Regions from separate parts of the Homo sapiens genome. Here region 2 is linked to region 1. Evidence: promoter capture Hi-C in human tissues and cell types (Jung and others, 2019). All regions are on one chromosome and are shown on one strand. The core of a region is centred on a gene start or on the middle of the fragment in contact, and the rest is flanking DNA. Distances in the headings are between cores, read along the strand shown.

What was found. The method cuts DNA at HindIII sites, captures the fragments that hold promoters and counts their contacts. A contact is called where the count stands out against the background at its distance.
Region 2: a fragment that was not itself captured here is called in contact with the fragment with the promoter of DMRTB1 in region 1 in 1 of the 25 tissues and cell types used here (aorta).

Annotation. Positions count from the first base shown.
Region 1 is chr1:53,457,294-53,462,282 of GRCh38, reverse strand. DMRTB1 (DMRT like family B with proline rich C-terminal 1) reads right to left here and starts at 2,884. Exons shown (of 4, transcript NM_033067.3): 1 at 2,253-2,884; 2 at 638-810. The coding sequence starts at 2,829. The HindIII fragment of the contact is 5,631 bases long and covers 369-4,989 here.
Region 2 is chr1:53,407,008-53,411,996 of GRCh38, reverse strand. No RefSeq gene overlaps it. Among named protein-coding and RNA genes, the nearest start is that of LINC02812, 41 kb to the right of the region's middle. RefSeq lists an enhancer at 2,930-3,525. The HindIII fragment of the contact is 6,842 bases long and covers 1-4,989 here.

The DNA of each region.
Region 1 (4,989 bases), core at 1,635-4,134:
GTAGTACACACCACAGGGATGACCTGACTTTACACACTCGCTCTCAAAATTCCCAGCTTACAGAGAATACCAGCTAACGACTGACCTTTATTAATCTTATAAAAGGATTAAATTTCATTCTTTCAACAGGTATTTCCTAAGGTGTCAAGTGTTTGGGGGAAGGTTTCCGTATTTTTCATGACTCCGCTCAAATGCCACCTCCTCCTGAAAGCCCTCTGCAGTCTCAAGTGTGCTATACCTGTGGGCAGGGAGCCTACCTCTGGTCCTGGCTCTGCCCTAAATTTTGTGGTCCCAGGAAGGTGATATGCCCTTTCTGGAGTCCAGCAAAATGAAGGGCCCTTCTAGCATCAGCATCAGTCAAGGAAGGGGTCATCCTGAACGCTCAGAGCCTTTCAGCCCACTGCCCTGAAAAGCACAGGCCATAGCCCAAGCCGAGTGGTGCAGACTGGTCCACACGTGTGCTCCCAGAGACACACACACTGTGCCTGGGCAGTGCCTAGTCCTCCACCAGCACTCGGGGGCTGGCATGGCGTGGGCACAGTTTATGACAGCTGGCTTCCTGGGACTGAGGATCCATCAAGGCAGCAGGGGCAGACTGGGTGGAGGAAGCTGGCAAGAAGTGAGGGGTGGGACTCACCAAGCCTCCGCCTTGGTACTGGCTGCGGGACACATGCCGGAAGCCCTGCTGCAGGGGGACGCCAGGAGGGGCGTCCAGGTAGCCCAGCGGGAACGGGCAGTAGGGGTGCATGCTGGAGCCACCAGGGTACTCAGGGCCCAGTGCACGGTCCGGGTTGATGTTCAGAGGGCGCACTAAAGAACGCAAGCAAGGAGGGAAGTGTTAGACACCGCTGGGAAAAGCATCCGCAGGGCGGCCCAGGGCGGCGGGGTCATCAGCGCTGCCGTCCAAGCACAGAAAGCCCACCCCGCACTTCCTTCCGCTGGGCCCTCACTGCATCTCCATCCTCCAGCCAGCCCCACTGCTCTTGGAAAGTCCTCAGCACGGCCATCAAGCCCGCTGTGGGCCGGGGCCGCCTCCAGACCTCCCCGCTGCCCCACACACCGTCAGCCCGCACTCTGCCTCTCTGAGGCCTCAGTGCCGAGCTCCTCCTCCTCCTCCGGGTCACAGTGAACCCGGCCATGGCTCAAGCCCTGGACACTGATTTGTGTGACTCTTTGATCAACCCTGTCCCTCCCACAAGGACAAGGTCCTTGAGGGCAAGAAATGTGACCCGCGTCCTCCATCACGAATGCCTGGCTCATGGTTCGGCTCAGCCCTGCTTGTCTGTTGAGATGGAAAAAAGAAAGGTGGCTTCTCCTAGATCTGCAGTTTCAGGCCTGTGACCCTGTCAGATGGGACGTTCCCTGGGGACCTAGATTTTCCTGGAAAGTCAGGGGGGCGGGACGAGCCTGCGGGAGCCTCCGGACCAGTGCCCTGGCACACAGAGGGCAGGAGCTTGTCCAGCGTGACCCGGGCCCCCGCCTCGGCCTGAGCCCGTCCCACCACACCACCACGGGGGAGACACCAGGAAAACGCGTCCGCACCAAACCCCGGGGCTTCTAAAGCTTCAAATGTACATGTGACTTGAAACTACTTCAATACCAAAAGCTCCAAGGCACAGGGAACAATGTAATTTATGTACAAGGTGAAGGGAGAAAAGAAAGGCAACATCTTTACTGACCAACTGTTCTCGTGTGTGGAGTAAAGAAGCAGGCTCCCCTCACCTGCACGTGGGGAAACGGAGGGAAGAGGTGCGCAGGCGCACTGGGCCAGGGCGGAGCTGAGGGGAGGAGCCTCCCGACCGCGAACCGGGAGGGAAGAGTGCGCAGGCGTCCTTGCGCTAACGTGCCGGCAGGAAAATTCTGTTATTCTGGAGGAGGAGCCTCCAGCCCAAGGAAATGGCGGGAAGAGGTGCGCAAGAGCAGTAGGACTCGGCTCCTCGAAGCCTCCCCCGGAGGAGGAAGCACTGCTAAGTCGACTGGACGCCATTTTGTTCTTGCATGCCGGAATGGCACAAACTACAGCTAAATGTTAAAAGCCCTCTGAACCGCCCATTCCTTTCTGTTTCTCGTTTCCTTTTTGCGAAAAGTTACCCAATCCAAATCCCTGTTCGAAGAAGGGTTTCTCAAAGCGGAAGGTCCGTTACCCGTGGAAAAACTTCTCTCCACCCCGAACCCCTATGCCAGCTCCCCATCCGGGCTGGCCTGGGCTGCCAGCTCCGGGAGTCGACCGCGGGACCAAGGCCACGACTTACCAAAGTCGGTGAACAGTGGGCCGGGCACGGTCCGCATCGGCCTGCGCAGGTCTAGGGGGCCAGGGTAGCCACTGCCTGCGGCCTCCGCCCCAAAAGGGGGTCCCGCAAGGCTGGGCATCGCCACGGCGGCTCGCTCGCTCGGCTCCACGTGGCTGCGGCCGCCCAGAACCGGCTGGAGGGCTCTCGGGCCGGGGTTCCGGCCCCGCGGGGGCTGCTCGAAGAAGCAAGCGGCCGCGCGGCCCTCGGGTCCCGGGTCGGCGTCTCCGGAGGGAGTCCCCGGGGACAGCGGGCGGAGGCTCGCGGCCGGGACGGGGACGGGGGCGGGGGCGGCGGCCGCAGCCCCGGAGGCCTGCTTGGGCCCCTGCGCACACAGGGCCGCCTCCTGCTCCTCCTCGGCGGCCTGCGTCTTGAGCACCTTCTGCGCGGCCATGATCTTCTGGCGCTCGGAGATCAGGTAGCACTTCTCGCAGAGGCACTGCTTCCAGCGGCATTTGCCCGCGTGTCCCTTGACGGGCACCAGGAAGCCATGGTTCCTGCATCTCGAGCACTTGGGGGTGCGCACCATTTTGTCGGCCATTGGCAGGGTCAGCCTTCGTAACACAACCACCACCTCTGGGAGCTGCAGAGCAAGTGGCGCTGGGATGAGCCGCGCCCCACAAGTCCCTCGTTCTGGGGACATTGGATACACTTGTAACAAAGCGGCTCGCAGTGTGTCCCGGGAACTGCAGCAGGAACCTTGCATTTTCCCTCCTTTTGGGGGGTGCACAGTTTGGAGAGTTTCTGTGCTTTGGGTAATTAGATGCAATGGATTGGGTTGAATAAATTCTTCATGGGATGCTATTGCATGTATGTCATTTAGCTTATCTGAAGTCTTAGGCATGTAATTTTCCAAACTCTGTTCCCGCCACCGACGGAAGGTATTTGTAACTTTATGAAAGGCGGAGTGATATTCAACGGTCCACAAATTTAAAACTCGGGAGGAATGTAGCTCTCGGTGTAGAAAAATACTGTAAGAGGCAAACTGTATTTCTTCTCCCCAAAGCTGCTCCTTCTGTGGCAGTTCACTTCTCTGCCCTGCAGAGATGCTTCCAGGATATTCCAGAATATTCTCAAGAGTTCAGTGCAGTGTGATGGTTGCTCAAGGGTATGCCCTTACAGTAATTCCCGTTTCTTGAGAGTCTTGATGTAGGAATGCATTTCTGGATGTTGATGCCTTCCAAAGTGAGCATACTTAGAATATTTTAAAGTAAAATAGACAGAATATTGTAGCACTAAGCCTGGCATAGTGTCCTGTGCCTGTAGCCCTAGCTACTCGTGAGGATCACTTGAGCCCAGTAGTTGGAGACCAACCTGAGCAACATAGCGAGACTCCTCTTTCTAAAAAATTAAATAAAAAATTCTGCAAGACCCCTCTTTCTAAAAAATTAAATTAAAAAAAATTTCTAGCACTAGCTTCAGTGATTGCTTAACCTCATCATGAACTTCGTTATCCTTGTAAAACAACCCAAATCTTGGGACATCTGAAAAGTTAGCACAAACGTCATAGTTTACCCGAGGGCATTAATTGTTTTTTTTTGTTTTTTTTTTTTTTTTTGAGACAGAGTCTTGCTTTGTCACCCAGGCTGTAGTGCAGTGGCAGGATCTTGGCTCACTGCAACCTCCGCCTCCCAGGTTCAAGCGATTCTCCTGCCTCAGCCTCCTGAGTAGCTTGGATTACAGGCGCCCGCCACCATGCCCAGCTAATTTTTGTATTTTTAGTAGAGACGGGGTTTTCGCCATGTTGGCCAGGCTGGTCTTGAACTCCCGATCTCAGGTGATCCACCGGCCTCGGCCTCCCAATGTGCTGGGATTACGGGCGTGAGCCACCGCGTCCGGCCATTAATTCATTTTTTAAAAACAAATTTGTGACACCCTGAGGCATCTCTCTCTCTCTCTCTCTCTCTCTCTCTCTCTCTCTGTCTCTCTCTCCCGCCCCTCCCCCCCACCACCCCACTGCCTCCATTTCCCTCCCCTCCCCTCTCCTCCCTTCTTTGTCCAAAAAAAGGAAAAAATGGGCCACTAACAAGCTGAAAAGCTTCTAATTAGATCAGTCGCATTTAAGGAGGTAGTTACAGTTAATATGTGGCTAAAACTTGTGCATTTTTCATTGCTCTTTCTTTGAATTTCTCTCTTTCTGTTGGTAGAATGGGAGAAGCCCACGCCTGGTGTCCACCTTGATTTTCCTGAGTCCGTGATTGTAGTTGTACCTTGCGTTTCTCACTAGCTGCCTGGGAATAGGAAATGGTTACCATTGGGGGGCTTATTAGATCTGGAAAGCGAAAAAAGGTTTTAAAGTCTTTTTCTGCTTTAAAAAAAATCATCTTAATAAGAAAGTAAAAGTAGTAAAAAGTTTCCTGTGTTACTTGGCTTGTTAGGACTTCACTGGTTGCTCTGCATCCATTTAAGGAGGACTAGGTTTGTTTCTGCTTTGCTCTAACAACCTCTCACTTAAGTTTTTATTTTAAAAATATGATTAGTGGGCCGGGTGCAGTGGCTCACGCCTGTAATCCTAATACTTTAGGAGGCTGAGGCAGGTGGATCACCGGAAGTCACAAGTTCAAGACCAGCCTGGTTAACATGGTGAAACCTCGTCTCTACTTAAAAAAAATACAAAAATTAGCTGGCCATGGTGGCGGGCGCCTGTAGTCCCAGCTACTCGGGAGGCTGAGGCAGGAGAATCAGTTGAACCCGGGAGGCA
Region 2 (4,989 bases), core at 1,143-3,642, 50 kb after region 1:
CTTATCTCCAGGTCATCTGTGTCTCTGCTGCTAACTCTTGCCCTGCTTGCGTGCCCTGTTTTGGCTTGAGTCTAGGCCCACTGACTCCCTGACCCATCTCCACCATCCAGGATCTTACTTGCTCCCAGTCACAGCCCTGGCCCTCTCACCCCCTATGTCTGGGCAGGGTCCCTCTTGTATTTCACCCTGGTTCTTGAGAGTGTGTGGCCCACATCAGAAACACACAGAATGCCAAATGCCATGGTTCATTCTAAGTGATACATTCTTCCACGGTAACTGCCCTATCAGGGCGTGCTTCAGGATTTGAGTCACTCAGTGAAAAAGCATACTAACCTTTACAGACCTAAGGTTTGTAGTTTTTTTTTTTTTTTAAAGTGTCATCAATCAGTGATTGTAACATGTACAACAACAGAATTGGACATGTAGGGGTGTTTACTGATTTAAAAAGATTGCCATGCGTGGAATCTGGCACACAGTGGGCACCTGATCGATATTTGCTGCATTAAGGAATGAGAGTCAGGGGCCTGCGACGCCGGTGGTTGCAGCATTTATTGAAGGATTTACGTTCTTTTTTGCTCATGTTATGAACAAAGCCTCATTTTCAGGTTTTTTTTTAAGTCCTTTCATTAATTTATTTCTCCTTTTCTTACCTCCTTTTAGATTATTGATTACCTCCACTTTTTTGTGTGCATGGCCAGATGGCAGAGATGCTGTTACAGAGCGGAGCATCTGCCTGGGGCATGTTTCTGCACAAAAGCAGCATTCTACCAGCGACTGGAAGGTTGTTTAGGGGGCCACCTCTCCCAAGGGTCTAAACCCCATAAAAGCAGTTTCCTGAAAACTTCTCTAAGGTTGCCTCTAATGCTGGAAGTTCCTTGAGGGTAGCTACATGTGCTGGCCCCAAGCCCACCAGCCAGCCTAGGAAAGGACTTTTTTGCTTAGCCTTCATTTTAGTGACACTCCTCCCTGCTCTCCCCCACCAGCCACACACACACACACGCAGCGTGAGAGAATTCTTCATGTTCCACGCCATTACTGAAATCTAAATGTGACTATTTAGACTCAAAATCGACCAGGCGGGAACCGTGTTAGTCAGTTTGTCTTATTCTGCAGAGCCCATATCCCACTGTGAATTCTCAGCAAGACATCATAATTATCCATAATTAGATAAAGTCTGAACATTAAACCCGTCCTTCTAAAAACAAAAACTGGTGGTTTGCAACACACTAGATCTTCTGCAGTCCAAAGTTGCGGCTGGAAGGAAGCTGGCAAACTCCTTAAATGCAATGGTGAATAAAGTTTTTGAAATGACAATGGGCCAATACTTTAAAAATAAATCTGTTTCGAATGAAAAGTAATTTAGGATTTAAGACTCCAGTAGTGATGCAAAAAGGAAGGGAAAGGCCTCAAGACACCTTTTGCTAAGTCGGAGCGATTGAATTCATTCCCACCAGCTTGATCCTTTCCTGAAGGCAGCCAGGGAGTGCGTCCAGTCACCCTCAAACATCTCATCAATCTCCTGCCACAAAAATGAATCAGCATTGCACACAGACCCTCATCCTACAGCCCCTCAGCAAAAGCACCTGCCAGGCTGGGTTAGAAAGGAGTGACACGGCCGGCCACAGATGGAAGTCCCCAAGCTGCAGCACTAGGGGGCCAGCGGGAGGAGCGGAGCAGCCCCCACCGTGAGTGCCTCGTCTCCTCCGGGACCTGTCGGTCTCACATTCCCTCCAGCATAGATCTGTCATATCCTGTTGTCAGCGGCAGAGTGGGTGGGCAGATGTGTGCATGGCCAAACAGCAGAGATGCTGTCACAGAGCGGAGCATCTGCCTGGGGCATGTTTCTGCACAAAAGCAGCATTCTACCAGCGACTGGAAGGTTGTTTAGGGGGCCACCTCTCCCAAGGGTCTAAACCCCATAAAAGCAGTTTCCTGAAAACTTCTCTGAGGTTGCCTCTCATGCTGGAAGTTCCTTGAGGGTAGCTACATGTGCTGGCCCCAAGCCCAACCAGCCTAACACCTGGTACATCAGGGCTGAGTTACGCATCTGGTGCCTGCATTGAAACCTCTGTGGCCCAACTGCAGCAGTGTTTTTCTGCCCCGACAGGACTTATGAGAGTCTCCTGGGGTCCCTGCGTCTCCCTGTTCGGCAAACACAGATCTAGGGTCAGACAGTTGTGGGTTCAGATTCCAGCACGGCCACTCAGGCAAGCTCCCTAGCCTCTCCCCAGCCTGGTGAGAAGGGCAGCGCTCACCTTTAGAGGTGATTATGCAGCACAGAAGCAGCACATGGGAGCACCAGACATGGCAGCCAGCACGCTCCAGGTGTCCTCCTTACTAGATTCTGTTTGTTGGCAGGATCTTTAAAAAGACCAGCCATGTGGCATTTCAGAGACTACAGAGATCAGAAACAGAGACAAGTCACTAGGGAGAGGGGCCTTCCCCGACTCCCAAATGCACGGGGATTTCTCCTTTAGGTGAGCTCTCCAGCGGCCTTCAAACTCCCAGCTGGGACCTGCAGCAGAGCCTATGCCCCATCTTGGGGTTACCTAGTCCACTCCTGGGGTCACCTAGCCTCCTCGTGGGGTCCCCTAGTCCCCTCATAGGGTCACGTAGCCCTCTCGTGGGGTCCTCTAGCCCCCTTGTGGGGTCTCCTAGCCCCCTGTGTGGAGTCCCATAGCCCCCTGCATGGGGTACCCTAGCTCCCTCAGGGGATTCCCTAGCCCCCTCATGAGGTCCCCTAGCTCCCTCGTGGGGTCCCTTAGCCCTCTCATGAGGTCCCCTAGCTCCCTCAGGGGATTCCCTAGCCCCCTGTTTGGGGTCCCCTAGCTCCCTCATGGGGTCACCTAGCCCCCTCATGAGGTCCCCTAGCTCCCTCGTGGGGTCCTTTAGCCCCCTCGTGGGGTTCCCTAGCTCCCTCAGGGGATTCCCTAGCCCCCTCATGAGGTCCCCTAGCTCCCTCGTGGGGTCCCTTAGCCCCCTCATGAGGTCCCCTAGCTCCCTCAGGGTATTCCCTAGCCCCCTGTTTGGGGTCCCCTAGCTTCCTCATGGGCTCACCTAGCCCCCTCATGAGGTCCCCTAGCTCCCTCATGGGGTCCCTTAGCCCCCTCGTGGGGTTCCCTAGCTCCCTCGTGGGGTCCCCTAGCTCCCTCGTGGGGCCACCTAGCCCCCTCGTGGGGTCCCCTAGCCCCCTCATGGGGTCACCTAGCCCCCTTGTGGGGTCCCCTAGCTCCCCCATGGGGTCGCCTAGCTCCCTCGTGGGGTCACCTAGCCCCCTTGTGGGGTCCCTTAGCCCCCTCATGGGGTCCACTAGCTCCCTCGTGGGGTACCCTGGCCCCCTTTTGGGGTCACCTAGCTCCCTAGTGGGGTCCCTTAGCCCCCTCATAGGGTCACCTAGCTCTCAGCAGCACATCAGCCTTGCCCGGGAAGGCAGGTGGGTAGTGCAGGCCAGGGACCTTGCCTCACAGGCCCACTGTTCCACAGTTCCCTGTACAGGGCCCATGCTTAGAGCAGCTCTTTTAGGGTCAGGCTACTGTTGACTGGGAAGCCCCAAAAAGATTGGGCCTGAGTCATCCTGGCACCATAGTTACTGTCTGGAGACTTAAGGGATGAGTCTCATTTGTGACTTTCTTCAGATTCTGCAAAATTTATAGCCTGTGAGTCTGTCCTGCCTCCCACCCTCCTTTCCTCATGGGCCCAGACTCCGCCCCGACACTGCCCCAGTTTTGCCTCTCACCCACCCAGCAAACCCTACCCAGGGACAGTCTGATGGCCTCACCTTCTCCATGCCTACCCAGGCTACTGAGTGCCACTGGGTTCTCAGCACTGCCAGACTGTTCAGAACTGTCATCTCCCTGTTCCACCCAACCTCCATTCAACCCTCACTCCCCTCTCAAACCCCTGCCCACTCCCCTCAGCAAGTGACTTTGGCCCTCACTCCATGGGGACTACAGAGATGCATTCCTCCTCCCCACCTTGCTCTCCCAGCTTCTCTTCTGCACCTACACCATCTCTATCTCCCTCTGTCTTAGTCTGCTTCCATTTCTATGAAGGAATAGTCAAGGCTGGGTGATTTATAAAGAAAAGAGGTTTATTTAACTCATGGTTCCTCAAACTGTACAAGAAGCATGGTGCCAGCATCTGCTTCTGGTGAGAGCTTCAGGGAGCTTCCACTCACAGCAGAAGGTGAAGGGAGCAGGTATCACCTGGTTAGAGAGAAGGAAACAGAGAAGGGATCTTTTAAACAACCAGACCTCCAGGTAAACTCATACAGCGAGCACTCATTCATTACAGCAAGGACACTGCAAAGCGATTCAAGAGGGATCCACTCCGATAACCCAAACTCCTGCCGCCAGGCCCCACCTCCAATACTGGGCATCAAATTTCCACAGGAGATTTGGAGGGGACGGATTTCCAAACTATATCACCTTTCCTGCCAGGCACTGGCAGGGGGTCCAGCCTCAGTCTCCCCATCCTCATCCTCTCTAGCCTTCCCTGGGGAATCTCTACCACTGCTCAGCTGTTTCTCCGCTGTGTTCCCAGGCTAAGCTGCTGGCACCACAAACCACCTTCCTGTGCCGATTTGAGACCTGGGAGTCATCCTTGGTTCCCCCTCCCTCCCCACAGGCTGTCTATTCCCTCTTCTGCACAGGATTCCTTCTCTCTTCCCATGGCCATCCTCACCTTGGTTCAGGCACCCTGCCCCCAGCCTGGCCTCCTCCCCCAGTCCTCCCTCTAGGCTGGATTGCATATCTGTCCAAGGTCAGACAATCATCCTTACCCAAGACCCTCAGGACTCCCCTAGCCTCCTGAGTGGGGTCTGCCCCTGACTTTAGCAGTACACCCATGGCCCTCTGTCATCTGGTCTCCATGACCACTCTGACTTAGGTCCTCCCCACTCTCACCCCTCCAGCTTCCCTCGGCCCTCTCCTAATTCTCTGCCATGAAACATGCAGGTTCCTCTGCCTGGAAGACCTTCCTCCCCTCCAA